Regions from separate parts of the Homo sapiens genome. Here all the other regions are linked to region 1. The links are contacts of gene promoters, found by promoter capture Hi-C in blood cells and fetal thymus (Javierre and others, 2016). All regions are on one chromosome and are shown on one strand. Each heading gives the region's core, a stretch centred on a gene start or on the middle of the fragment in contact. The rest is flanking DNA. Distances are from core to core; before and after follow the strand shown.

Region 1 (3,873 bases), core at 809-3,308:
TGCTCTGCCATTTCCTTGAGGAATGGCAGGCAGCATTCTCAACCTAACACCCCCAAAGAGTTAAAACTTAAGGCACCGAGCAGGAGGGCTAGTCTATTTAAGCATCAGCAGCACAAACTAAATGCTCACAAAGGCAAATAGCAGTGTGAGTCGACCTTGGAGGGGCAGGGTGGATTACAAAGCAATTGAAAAAGAAAAAAACAAAGCAATAATCTTTTGTATAATACTGAAAGTCTGCTTCCCAGTCTGGTTTACAAATAGGCGTTGCTGGACGAGACAAAATAAATGACAGATAACTACAGCATGAATTACCTAACCCTAATCACATCACCGAGTCCTGGTGACAGCATAGATCATTCAGGCACGCCTTGTTCACTCTCGGCATATTTATTTATTAAGGAGACGGTGGAGTCTGGCTAATGCTAATGCAATACAAAATAATATCACCCGTACACTCGAGGTGGTCACTCCGCTAACATGTTTTCCCCCTAATCAAGTCCAATTTAATTGACAAATCGGAGCAGTGATTTCACACCTGAGAGTCTTTCATGTCTTAACTGCAGGATAAAGTTCAGGGTAGGTACTGCCCACTGCTTACTTACGTGGGCTTGCCTCTGGGCCCCTAATGGTCATTTGACACACACACATAAAGCCTAAAGTATTTAACCAATTCAAGTCCAATTATGATCAGTTACATTTCATTCCTTTTCAAGACTCAGGCCTCCTCATGGCAGCTACACAGAAAAATAGATCTTCTAAAAGTAAAGAACATCTATTGTAAAGCAGTCTGTAGCATGCTGATCATCCTCAACATAAAATAAAATAGGCAAGGCAAATTAAAAATAAAAATAAACTCTCAGAGACTCTGGTAGGAGCCCTATACCTTCTCACACCCTTCTTTCATTCTATACCCTGCGATTAAAAGTTTGAGTTACCCCCACCGTTGCACGTCCTATCCAGTGGGAAAAACCCTTTTAGAGCCACAATCAAAGAACAGCTCACCAGAAAAGCCCCTGAAATTATATTCTTGTGCCTGGTAATCACTGTTGTGATCTGCTTTCTAAAAACCGTGCCCATCTGCAAAAGACGTTCCTGATATCAGGACCATTTATGCTGCCAAATAACAACAAAGAAACTGAACTCAAGTGAAACTATTATCTCTCCTTAAAGAGAAAGCTACAATTCCGGGTTTGCTGCTTTCTTCTTATGTCTTCCTCTGCCTCATTAACTCCATTGGTATGTCACTAATTTCAAAGAAGCAGGAAGAAGTGATGGGGGTGGGGGTTAACTAATAATTCACACGCCTGTCTGTTTCCCATCCCAAGTGCAGAACGATACCACGCTGATCGCCAGACCGTGGGTCAAGCCATACCTTGGTTTGGAGATAATGAGGATAGTAGTAAGTGTACTGGGGGTACATTTGTGGCTGATCCAGGCGTTTGCCCATGTAGCTGGAATCTTTATCTCCGAGGCAGGGAACTGGATGACAGGGTATAGTGCCCCAGGCCGAGCTTCCTCTTAAACCACTATTCCTGACAGTCCCGGTGACTGATGAGGCTTCAGAGACTCCACCACTCGCTAGTTCCAACACAGCAAGAATTTTTTTAAAAAACAAAACAAAACAAAAAACACACACCAAAGGAAAAAAAAAAAGGGCGAGGAGTGAGATCTGTAGAAAAAACACCCACACACAGCCTTCCCAGATCTTGCCTGGCTTCCCCCAGCTGCCGGGGTCCACTTGGGATGAGGCAGTTTGTTCTCTAACCAGGCTGTCTGTAGTGATGTCAATTGCCAGCGTTCGTAAAGGGGGAAAAAAATCAAAGTCCTTTTAGCACAACTCCGAATCCTTGCAGATCAGCTTCCTGTCTCTTGGTTGTCTCTTTCCCCACCTTAAAGAAAAAGAAAAAAGAGAGAGAGAAAGAGAAAGAAAGAAAGAAAAAGAAAGAAAGAAAGAAAAAGAAAGGGGAAAAAGAAAAAAAAAAAGAAAAAAAGGAAGAAAAAAAAAAAAAAAAAACCTTGTACAGCTTAGTTGCTGCTGTCTCCCTCCCAGAGTGACATGGTGTTCGGGGCTTGTCCTGTCCTTTCATTCACTTCCCCTCCTTCCAGCCGGTGGGTGGAACCGAGAGAGCCTCTCCAGGGAGCAGCGTACGCAGTCCAGAAGGCTGCAGTATTTCCTCCAAGAAAAAAAAAAAAAAAGGCTGCTTCAACCCCTGCTGCAAGCAAAGTTCCGATTCCCTCTGCTGGCTATCTCGAATAGCAAGCGATTTTTGCAGCAACGCTGCTGCCGCTGGAACTGAACCTGAAGAACTCAAATGCGGGCGGTGGATTATTTCTTATCCCTCCTCCATCTACCCCACACAAGAGCTGCTTTTTGTTCCTCTTTTTGCCAAGTTCCAAGGTAAGCCACACTGCTAAACAAAACACAGAAGAGAGGGAAGAGAGGACGAAAGAAGGAAGGAGGAGAAAGGAAAAGAAATAAAGGCAGGGGAACTAACCTTGCTGGTTAAAGGGGAAAAAAGTAAGTCCCGGATGCTTTCAAAATCTGTTAACACGCTAGAGCCAGACGCATCCAAGAGCTGATTGAGAAACTAACCTTTTACTACCTGGAAAACTTGGTGGATGTTAAGTATTGAAGAAATTTTAGGGTCTACTCCAGGACTACTATTAATGCCACATGTCATCAGATTGGACTGATCAACTGAACATATCAAAAATAATAACTTTTTTAAAATACATCCATTTTGTAAAAAAAAAAAAAAAAAAAATCAAAGGAAGTGACCCCTTAGGTTCGTCAGATATTTTACAGATAAAATCTGTTTCTCCCATTGTCTCTCTCTTTATGATTATTTTGTTGCATTGATGCTTTAATCACTTTACTGATATCATCTAAAAAAAAAAGAACAAAAATCATAATTGCTTGGCAGAGTTTTTTCCCACCAATGATAATATTCTGTCATGTCTATCAGCTGCTACATTATAATACAAATTGTTTCAGATAAAATATATTTCCTTAAAGGGTCCCTTTTCAAGGCGGGCGAGGCTAAAATTAGATGTGCCAGCTGTGTTTTGCTGCGAGTGCTCACGCATGCCCAAAGCGTGGGCAGACCAATACTGAGCTCTTTTCTACTTTGTCAAGTCGGCTCTGTTCTCCTGAGCCCAGAGTCTCCTATTTAGATAAAAGGTCCCTGGTACAAATCCAGCTTCCTAGTCAAGAAGAACAGAGAATTTGGGCTCAGTGCACACATGGTGTCCATCCACATACAAGCCGCACCACCCCTAAAGCAACTGGCTTCCACCGAGGGGAACTGGTTTCTGGAAGCTGTGTGAGTGCATACGTGTTCCTTGGATAAAAATAAGGATGGCAGGTAAATAGTTTTATGTTTTACTTTTGACAAGAATAACAATCAGAAGGAAGGAAGGATGGAGGGTGAGAGGGTAAGAGTTAGGAGGCCCTGACAACATGGTGATTGAGAATATTAAATCAACCCCACCTATCTCTTAAATGTATTATTTGGGGCCTCAGTTGTCCCATCTATAAAATAGAAATACTGCCAACTCTCCTGGCTGAAGGCAGTACACTGAATCAGACACTAAAAATGACACTGATTTAAAAATCCTCCAGTGGTGTCACGTTTCTCAAACAATAAAGTCCTGACTCTTTGGAATAGGTTTCAGGACACTTGACGAGCTGTCTGGCCCTGGCTTTCTACTCTAGTCTCGGACTTTCAACTCTGCCCCTCACATCCTATACCGGAGTCACTCTGAGCTACTTTCAGGACAGGAACATGCTCTCAGAGGCTTCTGTCATTCCCTCTTCCTGGAGTGCTCTCCCAAGTCCATCTCCACCTCTTTTACCCTTCAGCCTGTCCTTCA
Region 2 (3,873 bases), core at 846-3,345, 490 kb before region 1:
ATTCTCATGAGGCTAACAGATGCCACTAATAATGCTACTAATACTATCTACCATTTCTTGCCAGAATTCTTTGTGGGGCTATAGAAAATCTCTCAGTTAATTCTAGAAACACTTGTAAAGGAGATATTGTTAACATCAAATGGGACAATTAGGTTTTTTTTACTATACTTTAAGTTTTAGGGTACATGTACACAACATGCAGGCTTGTTACATATGTATACATGTACCATGTTGGAGGGATAGCATTAGGAGATATACCTAATGTTAAATGACGAGTTAATGGGTGCGGAACAATTAGGTTCTATGAGGAACCTGGCAAGACGCTAAATAACTTGTTCAAGTTAAAACGTAAAAAAGAGACAGCAGCATAAGTCAAACCAAAGTCCATCTGATTCCAAAGGCAAAGGTGGTATTCTCTGTAGCATATGTTCTTCCAGAAATTAAATTCATAAAGGGCAAAGGGGATCCTGGCCGTGAGGATCTCATAGAAAGCATATCATAAGCTGGACGAATGGCGCTCTTTTCTTTAACATCATATAGGTGTAGCAAAGATGTAAAATGCTTGTCTTTGGGATGCAAGAAATGAAGGGGCTGTTAAATGATGTAAGCAAATATTGAGTTGCGTCCTTTAAAAATAAATTATATGAGAATTTTATCTTAAATTATTTTATCTATTACATGGATTCATTCAGATAAAATTACAACTAGTTACAAAAGATGACTAGAGAATTACTTTCCTTAGAGATCATTCAAATTAGGTAAAGATGCAATAAGCTTAATGAAATCATGATTATGTGACTCTACAATAGGAGACTTTACTATTTCTGAAATTTTTTTAAGATTTTATGTGAACACTAATAATATACAGTGTTCAATTAGTTGCATGCTAGTGTTTAAATATATTATTATCATTTTTATTATTATCATGTACTACAACTAGCAAACCTGGAAGGTCGTACGTACTTAAGATATGTCCCACATGGTGAATAGCACTCACACTGGTGAAGTCCAGATGTAAGATGAACATTATCTGAAATTAGCAGCGACTAAAAGAAGCAACACAGAATAGTTCTTATGATGATAACACAGCTCCCATGTGGCATCTGTGGTTAGCTTTCTGGCTCTTAGATATTAGTCTTAAACTCTCCCTAAATTGTGGGCAGACTCATTCGCATGCTACTCACAAATTCACATAATTCCATTCCCACAATTGCAGCATGCCACACACGCTGCTTAAATACATTGTCTTAATACAACATTCACATATTCTGTCAAACAATATGCTATTTGCTAATGAAAATGAGAATGCAAATGTTCAGAAGACTAACCATTGCCTCTGCATTTAAAAAAATAAAACAAAACACTCACTATAGATTAGGCGCCTGAATGCTTGTTTACCAAAAAAAAAAAATAAATAAAAAATAAAAAAATAAAAAAAAACTGGTAGAACTCATTTAATTGAAATTTATTTTTTAATTGCTCCATTAAAACTAGCTTCCTAGAACATACGTAGGTTCTCAAAATAAGACCAAAAAAAGTGAGAGCGTATTTTAAACTTCGCCTTTATCTTGGTTATCTTTCTTCATCTTTTCTAAGATGAAGGGCTTGAATTTGACTCTATATCGGCTGTTTTCTATGTTTGTTTTTTGTTTTTGTCTCAGGGCCTCTTTACACTCTGAAAAATTATTGAAGATCCCCCAAAACTTGTTTAGACACGTTATATTTATTGACACCATTAAAACATAAAATAAAAAAATTTAGATGTTTATTTATTTTAAAATAATAATAGTCCTGTTACATATTGACATAAATCATACACTTTTATTTAAAAACACTATTTTCAAAAACAGAATAAAAAAGAGAAGAGTGGCTTTGTAATTTCTGGCTTAATAAAAGACAGCTGGATTCTAACATTTGCTTCCATATTCCAGCTTTTGCCACATCTCAAATCATGTAGCCCCTGGAAAACTCCACTTTACATTCATGAGAGAATCAGAGTGAAAAAGGCAAATAATGAATTCGTATTATGATAAAAATATTTTTGACCTTGTAGACCACCAGAAAGGATCTTAGGAACCTCCAGCGGTCTCTGTAACACCCTTTGTATCAAGCTCACTATACCATCTTAAAATGATTATGTGTAAAAACATATTAGTTTCAATATTTTTCTTCAGTGCTTTTGTACACTTTGCTAAGATTTTTTTATTTTAAAACCCCTTTGTCTTATATATGGATACAATTTTCATTCTTTTGAATGGACCTTTATTAAGACATATTGTGATTAGCTCAGTGATAATCGGCCGGTGATTGCTCACTCACAGGAGACCTGATCACGGTTTTATCTGCTGTTACACACACTTTATCAACATTTAAATGGTGTATCCCTTTTATAAAGAAGCCAGCTACCTATAAACAAGTGCTGCCTTACTTAGAGTGTCTAGTATGTCTATTTCCAGTGAAGTGAGGGAATTTGAGGAATTTTATATTCACTTTTGAAACCTCCCTCAATCTATCCTGAGGGATTCAGTTAACTTGAGTACATTTTACAGATGAGACTGTAAAACTCAAAACATTAATGAAAATAATAGATCATAGAATAACAAATTTAGTGTCTGTATGAATATAATACCTTAGTTTGGGTTCACCAGAAACAGACTTTGAAACAAGGTTGCTTGTGAACATGAATTCTTAGGAAGTATTTTCAGGGAAAGCCAGTAAGGGACTTGGGAATTGGGACCAGGAAGTGAAGGAGTCAAGCAAGGATGTGGTGTTAGACAGCCCCACAAACTGTAACTGTTTGAATCCTTCAGGAAAGCTATAGAGATAGTATACATCATACACAGGGTATTCTCATCAGAAGCAGAAGAACTGGGATATTGATACTCCAACAGCTGTCAATCACTGTTTATGGATGGCCCCGAATGGGGATGTAAATTCCCAAGTACTTCTGACTCTCACTGCTCACAGGCAAAACAGGCTGCTGCAGCCTAAGGGCAGTCTACCTAATGAAAGAGATGCAGGTGCTGGTTGATGGCCACGGGCAAACACTCCGGGAGCACTAACATTTGCTCTAATAACAAACAGCTGGAAATCAACTTAAATTCTTGAGTTCTTTTTCTTTAGGGCATCTCAGCGGGTCAACTAGTGCAACTGTTTGATATAAACCTCTGGTCCAAAATGTGTCTCACACTCAGTTCAATAGAAAATGGTTATGTTTTCATATGTACAGCCTCCCAATCTTGCTATAGGAATAATATGGAATGTGTAATAACTTTGGCTAAGAAACACATTTTTGAAAATGCACTTAATTTTTAAAATTATTTTATCATAAGCATTATCTATCTTTCTAAATATATAATAAGTATGCATATTCACCACCTCTAAATTTTTAATGTGTGTCTCAAAACTAAGCTTTCAGATGAAAGATTTAGGGCATTTAGAGCTTTAGGACAATCCCCGTTTCATGGGACAATGAGTAGGGGTGTGAGCATGGTCTATGCTTGAGATATAATCATCTAAAACTTAAAGTTGATTATAACCTCGAGGAGCTCCATTCTGTTTTTCTAGGCCCTAATAACTTTTCAAGAATAGGAATTATTGAAAGCAAGTATTAAGGTTGAGACCCAAGAGATACACATTTACATGAATTTAGATTAGCAATTAGGATTATTTTCCTGGCATACTTATGGTGTCAGATAGTTTAAGTTCATATTTTATTTCTTTGAATAAAAAACAATGTGCTCTAAGATATAAGGACTTCCCAAAGCTTCTTGTTTCAGATGCTGAACAGTCTTCTATAGTAATATGTGCTTATGAGCAGTTATAAAGAAACTGTGAAGTTAAAATAACTAACAAGATTTTTTTTTCTATTTA
Region 3 (3,873 bases), core at 851-3,350, 390 kb after region 1:
CATACAAACACATGCATGTACCTTTGCATTACATTGACAGTGAAATCATTTTGTTGTAACTTGGAGGTATTATAGCATGCTGGCTAAGGGCTAGGCTCTGAAGGCAGACTTCCTAGACATTTAAACTCTAGCTCTGTCATCTAGCTGGTTGTTATTGGGCAATACTTTAATCTCTTTCAGTTTTGGTTTCCTCGTCTATGAAATGGGGATAATAAAAGTACATTGGCTGGGCACAATGGCTCATGCCTGTAATCCCAGCACTTTGGAAGGCCAAGGCAGGTGGATCATGAGGTCAAGAGATCGAGACCGTCTTGGTCAACATGATGAAACCCCGTCTCTACTAAAAATACAAAAATTAGCTGGGCATGGTGGTGTGCACCTGTATTCCCAGCTACTCAGGAGTCTGAGGCAGGAGAATCACTTGAACCCGGGAGGTGGAGGTTGCAGTGAGCTGAGATCGTGCCATGGCACTCCTGCCTGGCAACAGAGCGAGACTCTGTCTCAAGGAAAAAAAAAAAAAAAAGGATTTCCTTGATACAGTGAATCCAAGGATTATAATAAGACATTAGCCCATATTTATTGCTAAATAAATTCTAGACATTATTAGAAGAAGCTTCACTGCAGGACCATAGAAGGTTGTTGATGGATAAATCTTGCCATTTTTCTATCTCTATTTCTAGGTTGGAAAGTGATACATTCATTCAACATTGAATCCTTCATTCAACCACTTGCATTTGTGGAGTGCTTACCAGGTACATGACTCAGTCTAATGGGAAACACAGACTCACAGGGAATTAAGAGTTTTGACTGGGAAGAGAATAAAACATAATAAGAAACAGAAATGGTTTATTTCAAAAGGAAATTGGGACCGTCAAGGTGGATAATATTTCAGAAACCAGTGAAAAGTTGAGTTCAGCTATGACTAAGAGATGCTCAGACAAAAATGTTCAAGGAATACAATAATAATAGTTATAATTTGTTCCCATTTAGTAAATATTTTTGAGAACTTTAATCTTGCCAGAAATTGCAGATACATGCATTTCTGCTATTATATCAAATATACTTTGAAAAATGTTGTAACCTACATGGGAAAAATAACAGGTTTTTTGGGGAAAACCTGCTTTGGAATAAGCCAATCAAAACCTATGAAACTTTGAACTAAAACTTTAATACACAAATAACAATTTTAATTTAAAAAACACTGGCAGTAAGGGCAATCAGTCAAGAGAAAGAAATAAAGGGTACTCAAATAGGAAGAGAGGAAGTGAAATTATCTCTGTTTGCAGATGACCTGATTGTATATTTGGAAAACCCCATCGTCTCAGCCAAAAATCTCCTTAAGCTGGTAAGCTACTCCAGCAAAGTCTCAGGATACAAAATCAGTGTGCAAAAATCACAAGCATTCTTATATACCAATAATAGACAAACAGCCAAATCATGAGTGAACTCCCATTAACAATTGCTACGAAGAGAATAAAACACCTAGGAATACAACTTACAAGGGATGGGAAGGACCTCTTCAAGGAGAACTACAAACCACTGCTCAAGGAAATAAGAGAGGACAAAAACAAATGGAAAAACATTCCATGCTCCTGGATAGGAAGAATCAATATCATGAAAATGGCCATACTGTCCAATGTAATTTATAGATTCAATGCTATCCCCATCAAGCTACCACTGACTTTCTTCACAGAATTAGAAAAAACTACTTTAAATTTCAAATGGAACCAAAACAGAGCCCGCATAGCCAAGGCAATCCTAAGCAAAAAGAACAAAGCTGGAGGCATCACGCTACCTGACTTCAAACCACACCACAAGGCTAAATTAACCAACACAGCATGGTACTGGTACCAAAACAGATATATAGACCAGTGGAACAGAACAGAGGCCTCAGAAATAACACCACACATCTACAACCATCTGATCTTTGACAAACCTGACAAAAAAAGCAATGGGGAAAAGATTCCCTATTTAATAATTGGTGTTGGGAAAACTGGCTAGCCACATACAGAAAACTGAAACTGGATCCCTTCCTTACACCTTATACAAAAATTAACTCAAGATGGATTAAAGACTTAAACGTTAAGACCTAAAACCATAAAAACCCTAGAAGAAACCTAGGCAACATCATTTATAACATAGGCACGGGCAAAGATTTCATGACTAAAACACCAAAAGCAATGGCAACAAAAGCCAAAATTGACAAACGGGATCTAGTTAAAGAGCTTCTGCACAGCAACAGAAACTATCATCAGAGTGAACGGGCAACCTGTAGAATGAAAGAAAATTTTTGCAATCTATCCATCTGACAAAGGGCTAATATCCATAATCTACAAGGAACTTAAACAAATTTGCAAGAAAAAAACAACCCCATCAAAAAGTGGGCAAAGGATATGAACAGACACTTCTCAAAAGATGACATTTATGTGGCCAACAAACATATGAAAAAAAGCTCATCATCACTGATTAGAGAAATGCAAATCAAAACCACAATGAGATATCATCTCACACCAGTTAGAATGGAGATCATTAAAAAGTCAGGAAACAACAGATGCTGGAGGGGATGTGGAGAAATAGGAATGCATTTACACTGTTGGTGGACCATTGTGGTTCAACCATTGTGGAAGACAGTATGGCAATTCCTCAAGGATCTAGAACCAGAAATACCATTTGACCCAGCAATCCCATTACTGGGCATATACCCAAAAAGGTTATAAATCATTCTACTATAAAGACACATGCACATGTATGTTTACTGCAGCACTATTCACAATTGCAAAGACTTGGAACCAACTCAAATGCCCATCAATGATAGACTGGATAAAGAAAATGTGGCACATATACACCACGGGATACTATGCAGCCACAAAAAAAGAATGAGTTCAGGTTCTTTGCAAGGGCATGGATTAAGCTGGAAACCATCATTCTCAGCAAACTAACACAGGAACAGAAAACCAAATACCACATGTTCTCATTCATAAGTGGGAGTTGAACAATTAGAACATATGGGCACAGGGAGGGGAACATCACACACCAGGGCCTGTCAGTGGGTTGGGGGCTAGGGGAGGGATAGCATTACAAGAAATACCTAATGTAGTTGATTGGTTCATGGGTGCAGCAAACCACCGTGGCACATGTATACCTATGTAACAAACCTGCACATTCTGCATGTGCATCCCAGAACTTAAAAAAAAAACACCGGGAATATTAAATCTCTACCATGATTGGAACCTATTATCTTTTGCAAGCTCTATATATTGGAGGTAGTGCTTTTTCTCAGATGTAGGTCCTTAAAGATGTTTGCTTCTAATAGAGGCCAGTTTCATCAAAATTAAAACTACAATACAATGGTATGCTTTTACATTCATCATTTCTTAAAAATCACAGGAGAAAATGCTTTTGCAACATCTGCATTGGCATTTGCAGTCTCTTCTAAAAATGTGGCATAGTGAAAAATGTGCAGTTCTTAACGACACTAAATCAACCACCATTTCTTTCACTAAAGGAAGGCATGTCAGCAAGATTTTTCACTTTCTTAAGATTGTTATATACTGCTAAATTTTCCTCTTTAATTTTAAGAAAGCTTACATACTGGTAATTTCGAAACATTAGCATGATGGGCAAACTCACATATGAATCAACACAGCTTCCTATTATTCTGACATCATTTTCTTTATTTACCAATCACATTAAGAAACATACTTTGCTTCAGAACAAATCGTATAACCAGGCTCAGTCTCAAATATCAAAGAATTCAGTCTAGTAGGAAAAGTAGTCACACAAACTCAAATTGTACTACCTTGAACTATTGCTTCATTAAAGAGACGAAGTGCTGGATGGAATCAAGGTAGACAGTGATTAACTTTCTGTAGC
Region 4 (3,873 bases), core at 924-3,423, 370 kb after region 1:
ATGGTTAATGTCAATTTCAGCTAAGATTTGTCAAAGAATAGCAAGCCAAATACATTTAGACTTCCCTAAATAGTTTTGTTTACTATCTTCACCCAGACATCTTATAATATAAGAAGGGTGATTTTAAGATATTAAAAGTTTGCCTTTGGAGTTAAAAAGTAAAGACAAACAGAACCTATAAGCTCATAACACCTTAGGCTTAGAAGTCATTAGATTGCCTAATTCAACTCAATATTACCACCATGTAAAAATACCTACCTAGAGCATTGTCAGTTACACACCTGAATATTCAAAATCACAGGTGTTCATTGCCTCCTAAGGCTTTCTACTCTAATTTCACACAGTTCTAATAGTTAAAAAGTTCTTCATGCTGAATTGAATTCCCCATTCTTGTAACAATTTCTATTACCTGTTGGAACAATACAAAATTATTCTCTTTTCTACATAAAAGCCTTTTAAATATAGAAAGATTATTATCAGGGTGTCCCTAAAATCTTTCTCCCTTAAGACAAATATGCCCAGTACCATCAGAGATTTCTGTTAGTTGTATGTAAATTCTCCAGTCACCCTTTTCTTGAATCAGTGAACATCTGCTCAATACCACACTCTGGTGTGAACTGAGAAAAACAATATAGGGTAGGAACATCGGCTCCTGTGGACCTGACATTAACACACTATTAATGCAATCCAAAAGGATATCAGAATGTTTTAATCGCTACATCACTCTGTTGGCTTGTAAAGAGATTTGCTTTGTATAAAAATTTGCTCATATTTATATTAAGATGGGTTCAGAGTAGTCTTCCTATTTCTGTTGTTTTTTTTAACCTAAACAATTGAATTTGAATTTGTCTATGTTAAAGTCGTCTTGGTTTTAGCTGTTTGTTCCAACCAGTTTAAATTTGTCTTGAATTCCATATTTATTATGTGATCCTCCATTTCAAAGCATTTGTGTAACTTTTCAGCCCACATCCAAGTTGTTGTGCAGCATTTTAAAAGGGACAGGGACAAATACAGGACTGTGAGGCTGGGCATTCATATGCCACTTTCTGGGTAAAATCTCATGACCTACATTCTTTATTCACAGCTCTCCAATTTGTCAGCAACAAATCAGTAAAAACTGTTCCATGACTTGCTCAAATTTGAAAAGACTTTGCTTTTGCTTTTTAAATCACCTAATCCAGAAGTCTAGAATCCTACCCCAAAAAAGGAATCAAGAGTAACTTTCATTCCCATCCTTTTAAAATACATTCTGAAATTTAGTGGTTGCCCTTTTTCTGTGAACTCAAAACCATGTGTTTCCTGACTTATTTTGCCCAGAAATTGTTGTCAAATTTACAAATCTGTCACATTCGTAATCCATTTCTCTCTCCCTCTCTTTTTGTAAATGGCCTAGTATAAGCTTTTCTAGAAGCTTATGCTTACTTTGTCATCTCTGCTCTTGAAGTTTGTCTCCTCTCCAGAGTGCAATTTATCTGGGCTTGATATTAGAAATCATTTGACATACGTAGGTATCTTCTTAACGTGGCCTTTCCTTTCCTGGCCTTCCATATATTCTTATTAACCTTTATTCTACTTTCCAGTTGGGAAAAAAATGTCAAACAAAAAATAAAAATAAAGATTTCTCTCTTTCTCATGTCGTTTGTTAGTATTACACCATATTTCCAGCATGCTCATTCTGCCTTCCTTTCATGTGAATACAACTATGTTACGATTTGACGGTGGAGGAGGTTGGGGGAGAATCTTATTCCAAAACTGAAATCCTTAAGGAATTTTAAATTTTTGCTTTTAAAAATCTCAATGTTTCTTTTTTAAAAGGTATTGTTTACATTTTTAAAAAGTACATTTTTTATTTTTGCATTTATTTCTAATTATTAAAATTATATATATATACACTCTGTAGAAATTCTTGAAAAAAATTATATAAGCAAGCAAGTAATGAAAAAAAACCTCAAAATCCATTTTTCAACATCCATCCCATAGTCCCCACTTATCTGAGGAAGATACCTTCCAAGACTTCCAGTGGATTCTTGAAACCTCAGATGCTATTGAACCCTGTATATACTATGTTTTGTCCTATATGTAACCTATGATAAGGTATAATTTATAAATTAGCCACAGTAAGAGATTAACAATAATAATAAAATAGTACTTTATAACAATATGCCAGAATTTCTACTCTTGAACTTTGGGACCATTATTAAGTAAAATAAGAATTACTTGACCACAAGCACTACAATACTGAGACAGTCGATCAGATAAGAGATGGTTACTGAGTGACTAGCAGGGAGGTAACATATACAAGAGCATAGATATGTTGGCCAAAGGGATGAGTTACGCCCAGGCAGGATGGAGTGTGACAGCACAAGATTTCAATGCATTATTCAGAATAGTGAGCCATTTAAAACTTATGAATTGTTTATTTCTGGAATTTCCCATTTAACATTTTTTGGACTTCGATTGACTACGGGAAACTGAAACTTCAGAAAGCGAAACCACAGATAAGGGAGGACTGCTGTATAGATTCTAAAATATAAATAAAAAAGAAATATTGACTTTAATTCCATGATATCATTGAGCTCTCGGTGTTCAAGTCATTCATCCCTTCAATGTTCTGGCTTCTGACTTAACTAGATGCTAGAGCTACAATAAGAACTAAGAGTTCTAGACAGAAAGTACACATTCTTTGGCCTCAAGAAGTTTATTAACCATTAGATAAGCAAACTAAAAACTGAGATAGCTTGTAGAGCAAAGTGAAGTATGGGATGTCAAGAGAAGTCCAAAGAAACAGTACCTGAGAGCCTGGCAGAACATGGTCAGGAAAGGAGGCTCTAGTTATAATCCTAAATGAAGGCTCTTGGTTGAATATTCTTTCAAGCCACAAAAACATCCACAACATTCCCTTTTCAGTCTGGATCACATCACTAGAAAAGCTTCTAATCCCCTTTCTTTGACCAGAAAACTCAGCCTTTCTGTTCTCACTATCATTGTGAAGATGTATTTGTTTTTCCCAAAACCAAAAAAATATTTTACCACAGAGTAAGAAGTAGTTATATGCTCCCAAAACACAATATGTATTAAGGCACAAAAGCCATCTTTCAAGTAATCCTTGTTTTGATCTGAGAAGGATTCGTCGCTGAATTTAGGGAAACGTTCTCTCCCCAAGTAATTGCAATATCCATCTAATTCCGGCTGAAACAAACTCCTGTCATTCTGCTTATTCACACACCTATGTGAGCAAATGTAATTTCCTTGAGATAAAGTGTGTTGGCTGAATTGGTAAGAAAGAAATAGGGAAAGCAATTATTCAAAAAAAAAAATGAAGAAGAAGAAAAAAAGAAAACAAACAAAAGGACCCTGCCTGTGCTTATTAGTTCTTTGGTACAGAGCCATGTTTTGAGTCAGGAGCTTGTGTGAGTGTCTTATCCTTGGCTTAGGAAGAAATAGGGAACAAATGCACATCTATGGAAGCACAAACACAGAGGATTTCCTTTTGATCAATTAGTATAGAATGTAATGGCAGCTTTACATATATTTTTCCATAAACATGGAATAATAAAACATCTATTTACTAATAGTTGCAGGAAAACCAGCAAAGATGAACATATGACCTTTTATTATATGCAACATGTATTTTTGGCTGGCCAATTTCAGAAGATCCTTTCTACCTTTGTAGAATTGATTGACAATAAATATTAGTAGGAAATAGAACCTGCTCCATTTATAGAAACTGACAAAGACATACTTTCCCAGCCTACTTCGTAACGATGGAGAAAACATGGACCTACCTTTTATGAAAAAGATGTACCTGTTGGCCAGGCACAGTGGTTCACGCCTGTAATCCCAGCACTTTGGGAGGCCAAGGCAGGTGGATCA
Region 5 (3,873 bases), core at 980-3,479, 300 kb after region 1:
GCTTCTATATAGACATTGTTAACACTTAAGGGGAAAAATAACAAAGAAGTTTAAAATCATTCTTAATCCTACCGTACAGTGATAACCACCATTAAAATATAGCAGTATGTTTTAATGCGAATATAAATATTCACTCTTTTAAACCAAACAAGATTTTTTCTACACATACTACTATTTTGTAACCTGATTTTCTTTACGTATCACCATCTCTCAGTGTCAAAAAATATATATGTGATCATTTAATAATACTTAAGATTCAAGTTTACATGTATGATTTACTAATCCAATATGTTATTGGTGCACATTTATGTTATTTTAAGTTTTACATATATTTGTTAAAAATAAATGTATAATGCACATGATTTTACATATCTTTCTATATCATTTGATTATTTCCCTAGGAAAAATACCAAGAAGTAGAATAGCTAGGTCAAATGTTCATTTACGTATCATGTATCATTTTTGATAAATAGCTCCAAAATAATTCCAAAGGGTTACAAATATATACATATAAACATATAAATATGTATATTATACATATAAATATATACTCGATTCCATCAAATAAACTCCAAAAAGTATTTATCTCAATGTATTTATTTACTTTTAATGCTGGATTTTTACCCTACCTTAAAGTAAATAAATATATTTACTAGAATTTAACATAGCTTTTTAAGCTTTCTAAGAGATTAAAAAAAGTAATTACTTGAAGAAAAACTCATTAAATGGAAACTAAGACTAAGAGAAATAAGATGAGGACAGGTATAATATTAAAATATGAATACGACGAGGTTTACAGCTTAGCATTTTTTACTCTGTAAGAAGTCATATTCAAGGTGTGTTACAAACATCCTGACAAATACTATACCAACTTTCAAAAGGAACTGAAACTGACTCCAGCAAAGCCAAGTGATGACATGAATGAATCAGCTCCTGTTCCTTTTGAAAGTTGGTGTAGTATGCATAATAAATGAATGAATTAATGATGGTAATAAAAAGTCATGTTGATAATTTATGTTATGGACACTAATTAGATGATGACATGTTAATGGAAATGGAATAATTTACACTCAGATGGACATAAAACTATAAAGTTCAATGAATTCTTCAGCCCAGAAAAGAGAATTATTGTTCAAATATTATTACTAGCTCCGATTTCTTTGCTTTATCCTGTCACAAGAATTTCTATCAAAGCTGTATCCTCCAGTAGCCAAAATATTTATATGCATTTTTTACTATATATAAATTTAAAATTAGTGAGGTTAGCCCCATTTATATTTCACAACTTTGTTTCTATAAAGCTAAGTGGACTCTCAGATAATAAGTGGTATACAAGAAGGAGGTGTTAACCTTCAGAACCAATCAGTAACAATGGTCAAAACAAACAAAACCCACAACCTTTCAGTGCTGCTAGAGCTGTCTGTCTGATATGACAGTCACCAGTCACAAACATCTAAATTTAAATGTGCAGTAACTAAGAAAAAATCTAAAAATCCATTTTTTTATTTGGACTAGCTATGTGTCACATGTGGCCAGTGGCTGCCCTATGGGACAGTGCGGATAGCATATTGCCATAATTGCAGGAAGCTCTATTGGACATCACTGCTTGCAGGCTAGAAGCTGTCTTCGAGGAATAAGGTAACACACTTAAATGTATACATGTAAGCTGGCTGACTAGAGTCACAATGTATTTTCCAATGAAATCATGAGTATAAATGATGCCTCGTTGATTCATAAAAGTCTGTTTAACCTTCAATGTAACTGAAATCTTGCAAAGAGGCATAGTTGTAAGTAATTCTATTCTACGCTTATAATTAAACAAAACAGGAAAACAATAATATTGCCTGAGAGATAGTGCTTTATTTCCTGTGACTGCTGTAATTAAGGAATAACAAGTTTAATTTGAGAAAGCAGTGTCCATCTGAACAGGGAATTCTGTGACAATTCATTAAACATATGCTCAGCCTTTCCATCAGTGTTAGAGATGGCCAAGAAATTATTCTCTCTTACTATTTGTTTTTACATGAGATTTGTCTTTTCTTTGACACGAGACTATCACTGCAACTAAATTTACATTCGTTAATTTAGATAGTTAAGTTTTCCCTCACAAATGGAATTTTATTTTATTTATTTTGAGATGGAGTCTCACTCTGTTGCCCAGGGCAGAGCGCAGTGGCATGATCTTGGCTCGCTGCAACCTCTGGTTCCCACAGCTCAGGTAATTCTTGTGCCTTAGCCTCTCTGGTAGCTGGAACTAGAGGAACACCACCACATCTGGCTAAGTTTTGTATTTTTAGTAGAGATGGGGTTTCGCCATGTTGGCCAGGCTGGTCTCAAACTCCTGGCCTCAAGTGATTTGCCTGCCTCAGCCTCCCAAAATTCTAGGATTACAGGCATGAGCCACCACATCCAGCCATAAATGGAATTTTAAAAGAGGAATATAAAGGGAGAAAGTAAACAATCTTTCATAAATTAAGAAAGAGTAGAAAAACAGAAAACATGGAAGGAATTTGTAGCTAATATTTATGTGTGCTAAGCACCTTCACATGCATTATCTCATTAAAAGTGACTGAGGACAAGTGAAAAAATAAAAATGATAAAAAAAAACATAACTGTATACAGAAAATGACAGAAGGAATTAAGGGATGAGAATGTGGGTAGGCATAATTATACTGAGACCAAAATTTTTAAAATATGATAGAACAGACAGAATATATAACTTTACTACTCAAACTATGGTTATATGGTTGAGCGGCATTGGCATCACCTGAGAGCTTGTTATAAATGCAATTTCTCAGGCCCCACCTTAGTTCTACTGTATCATATAATCTTTCAGCAAGATCTCCAAGTAATTCATATGCACTTTAGAGTTTGATGTAATGATACAGCACATACTCAAAAGTAGATGATATCTAGAAAACCTCTGAATTAGGCCAATTAAATTGCCCCCTAGGAGAGTGTCAGATATTTTCAGTGATGCACCCATAAACGATTCCCAAACTGTTTTTTTCTTGCCTGTCCCCAATAAATGAGGATTTAAAAAAGCCAAATACTTGCTTTCTCTTTCTCTCTTGCAGCTAAAAGTAGCAATGACCAGTCAGGGGACAGGGAGATATAATGAAATTCTATAGGGTGGTTTCTGAAAAAGACTTACCTCCCTGATAAAGGTAGAGGTAGTGAAGTGAGTCATCCCTGCCACTTACTCACATCTTTTCTCCTAGGAGTCTTATTGTGAAGATATGATGCTCAGAAATGGGACAGCCATTTTACAGCTGAGAAAAGAAGACACCAACACCCTAAGAATAGCTAAATGAAGAGTTAGAAAGAGCCTGGGTCCTTGGTGACATCACTGAGACTTTACAACCAAATGCCCACTTTTGGACTCATGTTTTGTGAGATAATTAAATATCCTTTTGTTTAAGTCCCTGTTCTGTTACTTGCAACTGAAATCATTCCTAATTGGCAATAGGAACAGCAGAGAGTTTGAGAAAGAAATAGAGATGGGAGATTCAGCTATTCCATGTATAGAAAAGTGAGTAGGATAGTCAAAACTCAGAACCAACCCAGTAATCTTTAGTGATACTACAGATTTGATTAAACCACTTATTTCAGATCTGAAAGCATTGCGTGTATATATCTTTTCTCTTAAAATAAATTTAATGGTCAGTAAGTCTCTAATTTACTTCATATTTTACAGATTAAATCTGAGTCATACTTGAGTTTTAGTCCTGGATTTTAAAAACTGTTTATCTAAATCAGTGATTAAAAATGACAAGCTTTGCTACTTGCTTTTTAACCAGGTTACTTTCAAATCTTATTTGTTTCAGACTGTGCATTATTGTTGCTACACATGCACTACACTTCATGAAACCT
Region 6 (3,873 bases), core at 543-3,042, 270 kb after region 1:
AAATAGTAAAAACCCAGTTAATGGAGATTCTACAAAATACCTGGAAATATCTGGCCCATTCTCCTCAAAGCTGTCAAGGAGATCAAAACCAAGGAAAGTCTGAGAAATTGTCATAGACAAGATGAGTTTAAGGTGGATGAACTTTACTTGTGGGGCATATGGGAACTCTGTACTATTTTTACAGTGTTTCTATAAATCTAAAACATTTCCAAAATATGTGCCTTTGGCTATCGTAAGGAGCCTGAATAGTTTTTTTTTTTTTTTTTTTTTTTTTTTTTGAGACGGAGTCTCGCTCTGTCGCCCAGGCCGGACTGCGGACTGCAGTGGCGCAATCTCGGCTCACTGCAAGCTCCGCTTCCCGGGTTCACGCCATTCTCCTGCCTCAGCCTCCCGAGTAGCTGGGACTACAGGCGCCCGCCACCGCGCCCGGCTAATTTTTTGTATTTTTAGTAGAGACAGGGTTTCACCTTGTTAGCCAGGATGGTCTCGATCTCCTGACCTCATGATCCACCCGCCTCGGCCTCCCAAAGTGCTGGGATTACAGGCGTGAGCCACCGCGCCCGGCCGCCTGAATAGTTTTGAGGACTAGCAATGATCTGTTCCTTTGGTCAGAGCCAAGGACTCAAGTGAATATAACATTCTTTCTGAATCAGAACTGAGAACTCAAGATTGATACTTTTTTTTCACTAAGGAAACAAAGGGAATTTGCCCTAGTTTGCATTCTTTTGAAGATGTGGGTAATGAGGGGTAAAAAATCAACTTTTTTTTAACCACTAAGGCAGAAAGAAATCATAAGAGAAACTCTAAATTTTAAAGGGCTAATTGTGACTTGAATACATTCTTGTAAGAGAGATGAAACCAGAATGTAGTCTAAAAATGTCTCCAGAAAATAATGGAAACAGAGAAATCTGCCTTAATGGAAAGGTTTGAGAAGAAAAGTCTTATCTTCTTGCTAAGCTTAAGGATAATGTAATTCCATCACCACTTCCTCAGTCATGAAAAAGTAAAAATTACAGAGAAGGTTAAAAAAAATACTTTTCTTGGTAGTCAAGTGACAAGCATTGAAAATGTACTATAAGGACTCAGTATTGGCTTTCATCTGAGGTATAAAATCAGGCCTCTGCATGTTGAGTTCATAAACTGTGCCATAACCAGTGGCACATCTACATTGATCAACAAATTCTTCTTGGTAGGCCATTCTGTAGCTCAGGATACAGGAAGAACCACTTGGCAAGTAAGACACAAGTCAACCTAGATACCTTCCCAAGAGTCAATATTCAAGCTGTACTTAACAGTCAATCCCTATCTATTGTTCTGATTTGTCTAGCAAACTTTAAGTTCCCTTTGGAACATTCTTGAACACCAACACAAAATACGTTCACTATCATCTATGTTTATATTAATAGCAATGATTTTGTTTTTTCCATTAATGTAGAAATGTTGAGTCTTGGTGCTTAAAGGTATTACAAAAGAAGCTGCTGACCTGGAATTTACCATAAGAAATACTGGAGTGATTTCATGGAATAATGATGCCCTAGCTCTATGAACAGCAATCTGGTTTAGAGCTGGATGATCCTTAGAGATTTCTTTAGAATCAATTGATTCTCCTGTTTTTCTTCATACTTTATACCACCATCTTCCTCTCTTTTTTTTTCATAACCAATCTGAACCTGAAGTAGAAGTATTTGATACTTGGGCATACTTAATATCCACCTTGCAGTGGTGGCAGATATATGGAATTGCTTACTCACTAAATCATAAAGCTGAACTTCTTAGGAAAGTATCAATAAAGTGACAATGTTTAATATAGCAACAGATCCTGAGAAAACAAACTTCACCTGATAGCTTTCAAGGTTCATTTTATGTTGTATGTAATATATTTTCCTTTTTAAATTTTTATTTTCTTCATTCTTTCCTTCCTCCCTTTCTTCTTCCCTCTTTCTACCTTCTTTTTTCTCATGTTTTCTTAAGAAATATTTTTTGTGGGTTCCTTATATTGCTTTAGAAAATGTATCTTGCTCAGAATTTTTCTGATTATACAAATAGGCCAAGAATTTCTCCTGACAAGAGTAGTATTCAAAAAATAACACAGTAAAGTGATTTTAACACATTATGATGAGAAATGGTAAGATGGTAAGCAGGAATCTTGCAACCATGAATAATTAAACAGATCACAGAGCTGGGACAGAGGTTCTTATTTCCTATAATAAAAGGATACTTGATTTGAGAACTTACCAGAACCAACCTATGCGCACTGTGAGGTCAAGTTACTTTAAAAGAAAATTATTCTTGCATTCATGATGTAGACCTATACACACACTCAGCCAGAAAGTTAAATGTTTTTATACTTAATACTGGGTAACAGGATAGCCTTAATCTGTGCAGAACACTGCAATATATGTGGGTAAAAGCAAAGAAATCCATTTCCTATTATCCCAGGGATAGGAAATAATAAATCAATAAGCATTTTCCAATGCCTGAAGGTGGTAAGTTAGCTATTTTAAATCGAAGTTCCAAACACCAGTTTGGTTGTTATGAGAACAATGCTGCATTTCAGTGCTGAAAAATCATCTGCTATTCCTCTGGGTAATATACTGTCTATCCTCAAATTTGGAAAGGAAGCTTTTTCTCTTTCCCAAACCTTCTATCAGTCACACAGTCAATTCTGAAGCAGTGGAGTTGATACAATATCCAGTATTGTTAGCACTGGATACCGTATTATGCAGAACGCGCTCACCATTTCCTTTTAATGTGCTTGAGTTTACAAGGCTCAGGGCAATGGAGAACACACAGCTTCTGTAACCTTTGTGAAAGTGTTGGATGTGCATTTGTGTGGGTACAATATGATTACATTCTTGAAGATTCAATGAGTTTCCTAACAAAGAGAGCAAAAAAGAAGAAACTGCTTGAAAGTCATCTATTACAAATGACTTCCAAAACTAAAGGTCTGGTGAAACGACGAAGCCATAACTTTGAATATTTGTACAAAGGAAAATGGGAAAAAATGTATATATATCTTCTAGAACGCCAGATTAACCTCAGAAAATGAGCAAAATATTAGATGCCCAGAGCCTGCTCTCATTCAATATGACAAATTCCAGAAATGTTCACAATTGCCACAGTTTATTAATTGCTACACAAGTGTTATCACATTAATGCAACTCAGATGCCAACGAGGGTTTAAATGAAGTTAAATGAGTAAAGCACGCAAAATGCTTTTCATTGTTCAGGCTTATGGGTAGTCAGTGAGTTGTATAATTGGGATTGCTAATGTTTCCAGCTCATTTAGTCTTTTACTGTATTGTGTGAACTCAACAAACATCTGCCAAAAAAAAAAAAAAAGAAAGAAAAGAAAAGAAAAAGTGCAATAGCCCAGATTCAAAGATCCTCAAAGCTAAGTTAAAACATACAATTTTCTTTCCAGAGATTACTTTCTTAGAAACTAGATTTTTAAAAATGCATCTGTTTGACTTTTTGTTTATTTGCTTTCCTCTAATTGTCACATATAGCGAAATCTTTGCTAGTCAAAATATGGTTCCTAGCATCACCTGGGAGCTTGTTAGAAATGCAGAATCTTAGGCCCATTCCAAACCTAGAGAAACAGAATCTGAATGTAACAACATCCCTAGATGATCTGTATGTAACAACATCCCTAGATGATCTGTATGGACATGACATCTGAAAAGGACTGAGCTAAACAAAGCCCCACATAAAGTCAGTAAGGAAAAATATACATATATTTTTACTTTTGAGTAGATAGTATGAATCATTTTAGTTCTTTGACAAACATTAATCCTAAAGAGTTTATAACTCCTAGATGGTACTCTCTTGCTTTTGGCCTCTTACAATTGCCAATTAAATGTGAATGAACTA
Region 7 (3,873 bases), core at 929-3,428, 260 kb before region 1:
TTCATGTATTAAAAACTCGGGTACTTGATACCTGGATGACCAGATTCTGTTGATTCTTCTTTTATTCACAGTTAAAGTTAGCTTAGTTATCTGATCTTGAGTCCAAAGAAGATTAGATGTAATAAGCTGGAGGGAGGTAAAAGGGCTTCAAGGGCTGGTAAATGGAACAGACTGACCTCCAAATAACCAAATGCACAAGACGCTGAGGCTACTTGTGTAGGACCAACTTTTCAAGGACCATAAAGTACTCAGAGTTTGCTCTATATTAAAGCAGAATAAAACCTGATGATTCTAAATTGCTACAAAGGAGTTTATTTTTGCTTGGTCCATTCACCTTTAAAAACAAGGAAGGCTGCAATCCAATTTGAAACTGAATTTCATCATAAATAGTTACCTTTATTTTTTTGCATCGACAATGTATTTTGTTTCCAAAAGGGTAGATGCTTAGCTTTGGAAGCCTATATCTCCATAATAACTCATTTCCTGTAAGACCCAAACAGCTGTAATAGTGTATGCAGAATGGAACTGAGTCAGAAGCCCAGACTTCAGTTATAATTTCTGTGATTATATTCATTCTTTGTATATGTTATTCCTCCATTATATAAGTTGAAATTAGTGACAAGAAGGGAAAATAAGCAAAAAAATGGGGTTATTTCATCTTTAGCTGTTAATGGTTAAGACAGTACTGTGATAACCTTAGCTCTTTTACATATATTTTATCATGTAATCTTAATAACTATGTAATTGAGCATTCTTATTTTACAGAAATAAAAAAATCACGGAATGTCACAGAAGTCATAGAACTTGACAAAGGACACACAGCTCAGTATGAATCCAGGTTGGCTTGACACGATACTGCCTGCAGGACAACATGTGCCTTCATTAACCACAAGGACTAAGTCTACCAAAGTGACCCACTGGATGCTTATTATCCTCTCTTTGTAATATGATGGCATTTATAAAAGTAATACTGAGAAAATCCAAAGCTTATAATTTGGAAACATAAATCTACCCATAACACTGTTTTTAAGCACCAGACAAATTCAAACTCACTTGCTTCTAAGCAACTCTTGCTTAAACAAATTAAGAACATCTTTTAGACATTTCTGCCAGGAAAAACTTTGGCATCTGCTAAGGGACTTCCTCAGTTATAATAAGGATAACGATGTTCCTTATTTGTATCCTTTTTGTTTGGGTTGCCAGGAAACTTCGCACTCAATAATCGTATATATCTCTTTCCTCTTCCTGTTAGTGCTCTTGGTTTACTATTTCTAGTTCGAGTTTTTCATATTCATTGTAAAGTATATTTTTTGTAAGTTACTTCAGAACTTCTGTGGGAAAATCCAGGGCGCATAAATTGTACAGAGGCCAAAACAGTTTATAAATGTGTTTATGTGCTTGATAGCACCATAAATGTTCCAGTATTTGATTATCTTCTACCTATCCACATTTATCTTTATTCATGTTTCTTGAGTCAAATCCAATGTAAGTCTATAGTGCTTTCTGTGACATGTGACAAGCTGCCCAAGAATGTGAATGACATGTTACCCTAGGGCCATTCATAAGCAGTGGGTTAATATGACAGGCCCAGGTTACTTTCCAAGATATAAAATTATTTGCTCCCTGTTTCCAAAATTTTGCAAAACTTAAATATATATGCAAAAAGCAAATACAAGGCTTTAAATATTGCCAGTATATTGTATTAGTAGTTCATCATGACTCACAATGTGAAGATGAAATGGAAAAGATTCAAAGTCATGGTATCGGGGCAAATTTTTTTTCTTTCTTTCTTTTTTTTTTTTTTTTTGAGGTGGAGTCTCGCTCTTTCCCACAGGCTGGAGTGCAGTAGCGCGGTCACAGCTCACTGCAAGCTCCGCCTCCCGGGTTCACGCCATTCTCCTGCCTCAACCTCCCCAGCAGCTGGGACTAAAGGCTCAGGCCGCCACGCCCGGCTAATTTTTGTATTTTTAGTAGAGACGGGGTTTCACCATGTTAGCCAGGATGGTCTCGGTCTCCTGACCTTGTGATCCACCCCCCTCGGCCTGCCAAAGTGCTGGGATTACAGGCGTGAGCCACCGCGCCCGACCAAAAATGTGTTTTTATAAAGCCTCCTGCATTGGTTCCTGTGACAATGGCTCAATCGTTCTTTGAAACAACTTTCACCTAAGAAATTTAGTTTAAGGTATTTTGGTAATTTCTTAAGAGTTCATGGCATTCAGTAGCATGTACTGACTTCAAATTGCTGTTGCCACGAGGGAGCAGATGTGAAAGCCAAAATGTTCTTCCATTAAAATACTTATTATTTACCAAGTAAAATAAAACAGTATTTCACCAAGTGCCTTTAGGGCCAAAGTTAGAGTCCTGACAAACCATTTCAAATTCCACTGGAACTAATGAAAATGTGCCAATAGTCCATTCAGCTGACAAACTACTTTCCCTCATGTGTCAGTTTTACCTTTTTTACCTTCTCTTTCATTCCCCTTTAGTAAAAATCTAAAAACACTTATTTTTATTAATATAATAAACATTCCAAATCTATTTGAAAAAATCAGTTTGGAAATATGGGGAAGCCATCATTTTCCATCATTTCAAGAAAGAAAGCACACATGATAGGCATGAAATAAGAATTATTTTCCTTTTTCCTGTCTTATAACATTCTCTCCAGAACCTACTGGTAGTAAAGTCTTAGTACAATGTCTTTAAAGCCATTCTAAAACGCACCTCTGAAACACACTGACCAACACATTTAGGTCCAGCCTAATTCTCATATTTTACAATATCACTTGCAGTCGGAGCAGAAACTGCTTTTGTCATCCTAAGTAGCAAGAGACACAGGCACAGAATGTGACAATTCATTTTCTTGCTCTTTCTATTTACAATTTAGGGCAGCATCACAGCAAAACAATTAATTGGCCTGCCTGGAAAACAAATAAATCACAAACTCAATATGTTGCTTGGAATTTGCAGCTCATTTCTGCAGTACTGCTGTGCAATACGGCTAACATATGAGGTTGGTAAGCTCTTCTTCTGACACGTCTCCAAGTTTGCCTAACCCCTTGCAAGGTTATGGTAGAGAAATAGAAGAGAGATTGTGGTGTAGTTATAATAGCATATGTTCCAAGTCAGTAAACATCAGAACAGAACAAAGAACAATAACAAAACTGATGCAGCACATGACGCAGTGATAAGGAAGGTCAAGATAAGCAATCTTAATATTCATTCAGTAATCTTGGAAGTAAATTTTTTTTGGCCAGTCTGAAAAAAAATTAATACATGCTGATTTAGCATGTTATTAATACTAGTGTTACTTGGTTATTGAAAAATAGTCACATGCACATACAAAAATTTTTCCCTTGCATATCAAGCTTCCATTTAATGAAATTACCATAAATGACTGTTTGGCTCCTACTGTATATGTGTGGAGCATGCCTGTCTACCAAGAGATTCTTGGCATTGCCTTTCCCAGACATTTTTTACTTAGGAAAGCTATGCAAATAAAAAACAAAATAGTTTGAGAGTACCCACCATGCTAACTTTTCAGGTCTTTTTATTCATCCTTGTTAAGAGATTCAGACGTCATTTGTAGTGGGTAACATATATGTCTAGCTAATTCTGTGAAGATTCAAAACTTCAGACGAAATTTAAAGAGGAGTAAGATTAGTACACTATGGAAACTATTACAATGACTATTTGCTACTTATTCTGAAATGTATGTAATTAATAGACTCTGAATAGACCATAAATAAATCACTTAACTAGTAAATGGGAAATAACTCTAATAAAACACTTGTTTAAATTATAAATGAGTCCATGAAGGGAGCCATGCAGTCCAAACTCACCATCCTGAATACCTCTTGATCAGTTGCAATTTAA

The links. The method cuts DNA at HindIII sites, captures the fragments that hold promoters and counts their contacts. A CHiCAGO score of 5 or more calls a contact.
Region 2: a fragment that was not itself captured here is called in contact with the fragment with the promoter of RBMS3 in region 1 in 1 of 17 cell types (endothelial precursors); the score reaches 7.9 in endothelial precursors.
Region 3: a fragment that was not itself captured here is called in contact with the fragment with the promoter of RBMS3 in region 1 in 1 of 17 cell types (neutrophils); the score reaches 6.2 in neutrophils.
Region 4: a fragment that was not itself captured here is called in contact with the fragment with the promoter of RBMS3 in region 1 in 1 of 17 cell types (endothelial precursors); the score reaches 7.0 in endothelial precursors.
Region 5: a contact is called between a fragment that was not itself captured here and the fragment with the promoter of RBMS3 in region 1, in 1 of 17 cell types (neutrophils). The highest score is 5.1, in neutrophils.
Region 6: a contact is called between a fragment that was not itself captured here and the fragment with the promoter of RBMS3 in region 1, in 1 of 17 cell types (neutrophils). The highest score is 6.2, in neutrophils.
Region 7: a contact is called between a fragment that was not itself captured here and the fragment with the promoter of RBMS3 in region 1, in 1 of 17 cell types (endothelial precursors). The highest score is 5.1, in endothelial precursors.

Annotation. Positions count from the first base shown.
Region 1 is chr3:29,279,256-29,283,128 of GRCh38, reverse strand. RBMS3 (RNA binding motif single stranded interacting protein 3) reads right to left here and starts at 2,058. Exons shown (of 15, transcript NM_001003793.3): 1 at 1,373-2,058. The coding sequence starts at 1,447. RBMS3-AS3 (RBMS3 antisense RNA 3) reads left to right here and starts at 2,190. Exons shown (of 3, transcript NR_109804.1): 1 at 2,190-2,398. RefSeq lists an enhancer at 3,154-3,203. The HindIII fragment of the contact is 8,241 bases long and covers 1-3,873 here.
Region 2 is chr3:29,772,804-29,776,676 of GRCh38, reverse strand. All of the region lies in intron 6 of RBMS3 (RNA binding motif single stranded interacting protein 3), which reads right to left. Among named protein-coding and RNA genes, the nearest start is that of RBMS3-AS2, 130 kb to the right of the region's middle. The HindIII fragment of the contact is 2,637 bases long and covers 777-3,413 here.
Region 3 is chr3:28,887,958-28,891,830 of GRCh38, reverse strand. No RefSeq gene overlaps it. Among named protein-coding and RNA genes, the nearest start is that of LINC00693, 310 kb to the right of the region's middle. The HindIII fragment of the contact is 2,970 bases long and covers 616-3,585 here.
Region 4 is chr3:28,911,139-28,915,011 of GRCh38, reverse strand. No RefSeq gene overlaps it. Among named protein-coding and RNA genes, the nearest start is that of LINC00693, 340 kb to the right of the region's middle. The HindIII fragment of the contact is 1,519 bases long and covers 1,414-2,932 here.
Region 5 is chr3:28,980,148-28,984,020 of GRCh38, reverse strand. No RefSeq gene overlaps it. Among named protein-coding and RNA genes, the nearest start is that of RBMS3-AS3, 300 kb to the left of the region's middle. The HindIII fragment of the contact is 3,099 bases long and covers 680-3,778 here.
Region 6 is chr3:29,011,003-29,014,875 of GRCh38, reverse strand. No RefSeq gene overlaps it. Among named protein-coding and RNA genes, the nearest start is that of RBMS3-AS3, 270 kb to the left of the region's middle. The HindIII fragment of the contact is 1,665 bases long and covers 960-2,624 here.
Region 7 is chr3:29,535,757-29,539,629 of GRCh38, reverse strand. All of the region lies in intron 3 of RBMS3 (RNA binding motif single stranded interacting protein 3), which reads right to left. Among named protein-coding and RNA genes, the nearest start is that of RBMS3-AS2, 110 kb to the left of the region's middle. The HindIII fragment of the contact is 2,379 bases long and covers 989-3,367 here.